Linked DNA regions of Homo sapiens: region 2 is linked to region 1. Evidence: promoter capture Hi-C in human tissues and cell types (Jung and others, 2019). All regions are on one chromosome and are shown on one strand. Each heading gives the region's core, a stretch centred on a gene start or on the middle of the fragment in contact. The rest is flanking DNA. Distances are from core to core; before and after follow the strand shown. Region 1 holds the start of SIX2 (SIX homeobox 2). Region 2 has its middle 33 kb from the start of SIX2.

Region 1 (3,964 bases), core at 1,458-3,957:
AGTGCTTCCTCTGTAATGACTTTTCATATGGCACACAGTATGTTATCCACGGTGGCAGGCCCCATGTCTGTTCTGTTCTCTCTGTGCTGCTTAGTGTTGCCTGGAGGCTCCTGGCAGGTCTGATTCATGGGCTTAGGGCCCAGGGGCTGCAAAGAGGGCAGCACTTGGAGGAACAGTGAGTCTGAAGCTCCAGAAAAATCTGCTTTCACTGAACATAGGCGGGACCCAGTCCTGGGGGAAGTTTAATCTTAAAGCTTCATGGGTCAGAGGAGTGGCACATTCATGGTGAAGGCTGTGGCTGAGGTTGCAGAGATTGTATGCTTTTTCAGGGTTAGTGTTCTTAGACCCACCCCATCCCAGAACCAGCAGGAACTTGAGAGATTACCCAGGCTTCAATCTAATAGTGGAAGAGAATGAAGAGCAGACTGGGGACTGGCCCAGGGTCTCATACCAGGAAGTGACTGCCTGGTCTCACTCACCCACACCAGACCAGGGTGCTCCTCTGCAGCCCCAGCCTAAGCACGCTAAGATGTAAGATGGCCATTGCCAGGGCTGGGACCAGCCAGCCAGGTGAATCCTTTTAACCACGTAGCTGAAGGAGACGTGCTGAAAAGAGTACGTTGCACTTTTGTTGGAGGTCAGCAAATTGGGCTTTGAACCTCATCACAGTCTGCGGTAAATTCTTCTCCATGTCTCCCAGGGTCCTTAGATCCAACTCTGGGGCAGCCCCTGTGCAGCAGTGCATAGGACTCTGGATAGGGTGGCCTGGACACAGCAGACCTCCTCCCAGCCCACAGATACAGACTCTAAAGATGCCACCTGGATTTCTGCAGAAAGCTTCCCCTTTCTGCACCCGCACTGGCTTGGGACCTACTTTGTCAGCCCTGTGGCCTCATTCAACATGCCAGGGTAGGCCCCTGGAAGCTAAAGTCTTAAGAGGAGTCCCAGGGTTCCATTCTCTCATGCCTACAACACTCCCAAAGGACTTCCGGAATGCTGCAGCACAGGGAAAATTTTTGAAATCTTGCAGAGAAGGAAATAAACACAAAGGCATAAATATATGCCTTACCATAGACACCAAGCAAAACCAAAAGTTGAACCCAGGGCTCTAGACTCCCATTCCGCGCTCCTAGCACAAACTCCATAGAAAGCATAAAAGGGTGGGAAAGAAGGAACTGGCCTAGACTCGGGTTCCATAGCCCTAGACTGGCTGAGGGCAGAGCCCAGGATTTGTGCTGGCTTGGGTCAGGCACTGAGTATGGCCCTAGGAGCTCCTGGCCTGCAGCAGCTGAGGGGGGAAGAGGAGGAAACTGAAGGAAGTGGAAAGGACATGTCCGGGAAGGAGCTAAGCCCCGGGCTTTTCAAAACGTAGAGCAAGAACACACCCATCCTCAGTTCTCCCACCTTTGTGCGAGCCCTTCTCCCACAGGACCAGCACCACATGTTTCCATTGGCACCCTGACAAAGAAGCAAAAAACAGGACCCCCTTTTAAAGCACCTCATCCCGGAGCTCAGCGAGCCGGTTCCCAGGCTGGAGTGGCCAGGAGCCGAGCCGATCCCCAGCGGCGAAGCGGGAGGACTGGGAATCTTGCCTCCGTTCTCCTCCCCGACCACCCACCGGGGAAGCCCCACCACCGTCCTAGAGTCCCTGCCGTCGCCCCTCTCCCCCGCCCCGGTGGGCAGACTGCGGGTCTGCGCCGTCCGGGGTTCTGCGTCGCAGCTGCCGGCCGGAGTCAGCTTCCATAGAGGCCACACGGAACTGCCTGGCGCTCCTCGGGCTGTGGGACCCGTGGGGTTAAGTCTGAGTCCCCGCCCGGCGAGGAGCAGAGAGCGCAGAGTTGGGGCGGTACAGGCCGCCAGGCAGCCGGCGGGGCTAGGAGAGGGAGGAAAGGCGGGATCCTCCGGGAAGTCGATTCTCCGGCGTCCGCCTGCGGCCACTGCCAAATCTTCCCCATTTCTTTCGTCTACTCCCTCCCCTTTTCCCTCGAGGACCGCTGAGTCCAGAGTTTCTAGGATGGGGGTGGGGCGCTGTCAGCAGAAAAAGCCAAGTCTTTGGGCGGCACCCGAGCACGTCCAAACTCTCCCATCCCACTGGCCTGCGCCGGGGTAGAATGTGCCCGGTGAACAGAGAGCCTGGGAGGGACGCGGTGACCTGGGGAGAAGGGGAACCCTGTAGGGTCTGGGCGAGGCTGCAGAGCCCTCTCCTAGCCAAAGCTGCCCAAACTTTCTTCCCCTGGAGTCTCCTTCCACCCCTCTCCCTCCCCTTCCTCCTGGACACCCCCTTAAACGGTCTCCGCCTTCCCTTCTCTCCTCTTCTCTCCCCACCTCGATCCACCCCTTTTCGTCTTCGCCCGCTCCCCCCGCTCTCCTGTCCTCCTCCTCCCTCCCTCTTTGGGCATCCGCCCCGTCAATCTCCGCCGCCGCCGGCCCCAACCCGGCCCCTCTCCGCCTCCCAGGCTCTCAGAGCGCCCCAGGCTCCAGTAGAGCCGCCCTCAGTTCTGCGCGGAGCGGGGCGATCTGTCAGCGGAGCCGGCCGGGGGGAGCCGCCCGGCCCGCCGAGGCTCGGGTTACCAGTGACTGACAGCGTCTCCATGGCGAATAATTTGACTCCGACTATTGTCTGGCGCTGGCAGGCCCCGGGTCAGATAACCGGACCAATCAGGGCGCGGGCCGCCGCGCCTCATGCCCGCTTAGAATAATATTATTAAGAAAGCTGAGAGCCAGCTAGACGGGAGGGAGAACGAGTGAGAAGCGAGCGAGGGAACGGCGGGCGGGCGCGGAGCATGCGGAGCGGCGCCCCGGGCGGCCCCCGGGCTTGGGCGAGGGCTTGGGCCAGGCGCGCGGGCCGTTGGGGTTCGGAGCTTCGTGGGACCCGCGGCCGGCGCGGGGACGTACGGCAGTGACTCGGGGCTCACCGGGGGCCAGTGCCGGGCCAGGGGGCCAGCCCCGCCCGCGTCTCGGCCCGGACGGCCCGGCGAGGAAGCTCCCATGCGGGACCGCGCGGCCCGGTGAGGGCGCGCGCGGGCGGGCGGGGACGCAGCCGGCACCATGTCCATGCTGCCCACCTTCGGCTTCACGCAGGAGCAAGTGGCGTGCGTGTGCGAGGTGCTGCAGCAGGGCGGCAACATCGAGCGGCTGGGCCGCTTCCTGTGGTCGCTGCCCGCCTGCGAGCACCTTCACAAGAATGAAAGCGTGCTCAAGGCCAAGGCCGTGGTGGCCTTCCACCGCGGCAACTTCCGCGAGCTCTACAAGATCCTGGAGAGCCACCAGTTCTCGCCGCACAACCACGCCAAGCTGCAGCAGCTGTGGCTCAAGGCACACTACATCGAGGCGGAGAAGCTGCGCGGCCGACCCCTGGGCGCCGTGGGCAAATACCGCGTGCGCCGCAAATTCCCGCTGCCGCGCTCCATCTGGGACGGCGAGGAGACCAGCTACTGCTTCAAGGAAAAGAGTCGCAGCGTGCTGCGCGAGTGGTACGCGCACAACCCCTACCCTTCACCCCGCGAGAAGCGTGAGCTGGCGGAGGCCACGGGCCTCACCACCACACAGGTCAGCAACTGGTTCAAGAACCGGCGGCAGCGCGACCGGGCGGCCGAGGCCAAGGAAAGGTACGAGTAAGTAGACCTTCTTCGGCGCCAGCTCCCCGGGGCCCAAGGGAGGGGTTCGCAGGGCTTCTGCCGGTCCCCCGGAGAGGCCTAAACTGGGCCCCCAGGCCCGGCCACAGCCCAGCGGCAGCCCGGCCTGACTTGGACGATGCTTAGGCCTTTCTATGCCGGAGACCCGGCGAGCAGGGATTTGTCTAAAGCGGGCAGAGCAATTCAGGAAGTTGTCAACTAACTACTCGGTCGCTAGAGGAAAAGGGTGGAGAAGCAGAGAGCTTCGGGGCAGCGCAGAACTGTGGGCCTGTATCCCCTGTGAGGCAGGCACAGTAGGTCTGGTCATCCTCAGGACAGAGGGGTTTGAG
Region 2 (3,596 bases), core at 707-3,206, 33 kb before region 1:
TTACCAGAAGGAGAATGGAAAAAACACACAAAAAGCAGCAGAAACATGGGGATACAAATAGACCAGGCCACCTATGGGAGAAAACTCTATGCCAGCTTCCTTGGTTCTACATCACATTCTGGTCTGGGCCATCCTCCCTTCTCCTGTAGTTACTTGAGTGAGTCTCTGTTTCTTACAACCAACAGAACCTAAGGTTCATCTTCCTGTTCCTCAGGCCTCTCCAGAGATTGGGAGCCAGGTCTAATGGGGACCCCCAAACCAGAAGCAGTGGCAGGGACCAGTTCAGCTCATCTCAATGCATTGCACTTGGAGTCTGGTATCCAAGTTAATCCAACAAGTGTGCAATTTGAGCACTTATCACTGTGAGACCCTGTGCAAGATTTGCAGAGGTAAAAAGTAAAGAAAGAGTAAGAAAGCCCTTGACTTCAAGGAGGGTATTATCTAAATAGGATGTAAGAAACACAACTAAGTCAGTACAAAGCTGAACAGATGTGTGTGTCAAAGAGGAGCAAACACAATGCTTTGAAGTTTCAGGGAAGTTGTGGTCGTGTTGGGATATGAGGTTCAGAAAAGACTGGTCAGATTTGCTGTGGATGCAAAGGAAAAATGTAGGAAATACTGAGGTTGAAGCTGGGTGTGGTGGTGCATGCCTATAGTCCCAGCTACTCGGCAGGCTGAAGCAGTAGGAGCATGTGAGCCCAGCCTCAGCAAATGGAAAGGAAAGAGAAAGGAAAGGAAGAAGAGAGAGTAAGGAAGGAAAGGAAGAAAGAAGAGACAGTAAGGAAGGAAGAAAGCAGAGAGGGAGGGACGGAGGGACAGAGGGAGGGAGGGAGGGAGGGAGGGAGGGAGGGAGGGAGGAAGGAAGGAAGGAAGGAAGATGCACAATTGCTTCTTTTCCTCCTACAGGTTTTATGAGACCAGAGGTAATTCCCTGCTGCTGTTCAGCGTTGCTGTGGCTAACAGTTCCAACCTTCTGAAGTGCCGGCTGGTTGGGGCTGTCTCTCTGGCAACTGATTAGCCCATAAACCCTGCCTTGCTGGTCCTGCAGCGTTCTCCAGTGCAAGTGACTGAAAGCATGCCTTTCCCAAAAAGGAAAATATGTAAGATTTAGTTCCCAAGTTATGTTTCATGTTTACAACGGTCTTCTCATCATCGTTAGTTGGATTAAATTTAGTGATTACAAAGATTTTTGTTTTTATCAATAATACCCTTGATCTTGAAAAACAAGAGCAATTTAAACAGACCCAGATGCTCTAAACTCCACCACATGTTTGTTGTATTTCTTTTAATCGCATTGTATTTGAGGCTGTCATTTAAATCAATTTAATATGAATGTTATTCCTATGGCCATGATTCCCTGGCTTCTCATACTAAAGCTTTGCTGGTTTTTGTTACTCAATTGCAGAACCTTCAAAGAAAAATGTTTAATATTAATTATTATGTTATCCTCCACTCTTGTGAAATAGGTATGTCCCCTTACCAAAAGCACTGTGGAAGCCAGAATGTAACGCCATGAAAAATTACCCTGGGACCACAGAGTCATCAGATTTTAAATCACTGCTGTCTATTCCTTTTCAGAAAGACTTTTTCCCCTTTAAAATGGATCATTTAGTTGCATTATTATCTCTACGATTATCAACAACTCTTTCTGTCAATGTCATTCAACTGAGACTTATTGAGTGTCCACTGAGTTTCTGTAAATGTTTCCTTCATCTGTAAATCAAAATAGCTCCAAGGACTTTGGTCATGGGACAGTGAATTCTGGGGGAGGAGAGGAGAGAGAAGTGGGGAAGGCAGGCATGAAACAATACAATCTCAGGGTGTGTGTATAAGGTAAAGAGAACAAGGCTTGCCATCAGGGGACATGAATTGAACCGTAATTTCAGAATCAATCAGTGACCTTGGGCATGTCATTTAACCACATTTGAATTTTAGTTTTCCAATGAAAGAAACATGTACCTAAAACCTCTGTGAGAAAACAGCCCTCTGGACTTGGTGGGTAACACTTAGATAGTTGCTGCCTCAACTGCAGACCTGCATGAAGCCGGCATTGCTTCCAGTCTGTGGCAGACAAAGCCTCCTCTGAAGACCTGAGGTTTTTCCTGGGGTCCTTCCAGCCTTGCATATTAAGGGAGAACTAAGGAGGGCTAAGCTGTGTAGGAGAGGCTACCTGGGTAGGGATGGTGATTTAGCGCCCACTCCCTGGAGAAAGCCCAGAGGAAGCTAAGAAGGAAAGCCAGCAAGTGCCTGCAGAGGTGGCCCAACCCTTTGGGACAAGAAGGGAGAAATAAATCTCTTCTTGGGACCCTCTGGGAATAAAACAGGTGGGCAGGAGGTCTCTGTTCTCTTGAAGCCAGCCTGGTTTTTACTCTTCTTCTACTCTTATTTTCTGGGTCCTCCCTTAAGATTTCCAGATTTTGAGAAATTCCAGCTGCCACATCTGAGCTAAAGGGAGATAAGACAAAGGGTTTGTGCCCAGTTGGACTGGGGCATTGAAAGCGCAGCCACAGGCTGGGTGCGGTGGGGCATGCCTGTAATCCCAGCACATTGGGAGGCCAAAGCGAGAGGATTGCTTGAGCCCAGGAGTTTGAGATCAGCCTGAGCAGCATAGTAAGATCCTGTCTCTACTCAAAAAAAAAAAAAAAAAGAAGCCAGGCACGGTAGCACACACCTGTAGTCCCAGCTACTCAGGAGGCTGCCATGGGAACATCATTTGAGGCCCAGAGTTCCAAGCTGCAATGAGCCATGATCGTGTCACTGCACTCCAGCCTGAGCAACAGAGCAAGACCCTGTCCCAGAAAAAGAGGAAAAAAAAGAATAAAATAGCAACCTCAGCTACTGGGCCTAAGAAGGTAGTGGGAGCCAAGGGGTGGCAGTGGGGTGGGTAGTGGCAAGCCCCAAGAATGACTAGCATTGACACACAAGGGCCATTTGGTCCCAGTTGTTTTTCCCACATCAAGAAAGCCCTTCCAGAGCTAAATCTACTTGGAGTTTTATTTTATTACCAGCAGCAAAATTCTCTGACACTATCTCCAAGTCTCATACCCCAGACACCTCAGTACCTGAAACCCCAGTGGACTAACAACCCCTGCCAAACACTCAGCTAGGAGCAAACATTCTGGACTCTTTCCAGCAGTGGCAAGGGGTTCCATGGAGCCAACCACACTCTCCCCCAGGTGAGAAATACTCTTCCAGGCCATTGACTGCATCCTCACTGCACATACTGGATGGCTAAAAAGGGTATGCAGTCTATGGCCTGGAAAGAACTTCTTCAGTTTGTATGCTCAAACATTGACCTCATCAGTTCAGACTCTGCTCCAATCCACAGAGCTGGCACACCCACATGACTCCCCTTTGTGATGTAAATAGCTGGATAATCCAGAAGGGACACCAAGCCTGGGACTCTGTTCTAGAAATTAATCTGCTGTCAGAGGTCAAGTGCCTTCCACTGCATGTCAAAAGGCCACTTAAAAAATCAGTCTAGCCCCCTTTATCATCTGTGTTTGTTATCAGTGTGCTACACCAAGCATGGTAAATGGGAGCTCCCAGTTCCAGGGAGCCTGCTTGCAACCCTTTAAACTCAAATAATAATATAA

Evidence for each region. The method cuts DNA at HindIII sites, captures the fragments that hold promoters and counts their contacts. A contact is called where the count stands out against the background at its distance.
Region 2: a fragment that was not itself captured here is called in contact with the fragment with the promoter of SIX2 in region 1 in 1 of the 25 tissues and cell types used here (IMR-90 fibroblasts).

The regions. Positions count from the first base shown.
Region 1 is chr2:45,008,195-45,012,158 of GRCh38, reverse strand. SIX2 (SIX homeobox 2) reads left to right here and starts at 2,707. Exons shown (of 2, transcript NM_016932.5): 1 at 2,707-3,608. The coding sequence starts at 3,049. RefSeq lists enhancers at 1,635-2,234, 3,239-3,964. The HindIII fragment of the contact is 8,583 bases long and covers 547-3,964 here.
Region 2 is chr2:45,040,754-45,044,349 of GRCh38, reverse strand. No RefSeq gene overlaps it. Among named protein-coding and RNA genes, the nearest start is that of SIX2, 33 kb to the right of the region's middle. RefSeq lists enhancers at 3,417-3,596, 3,587-3,596. The HindIII fragment of the contact is 7,520 bases long and covers 1-3,596 here.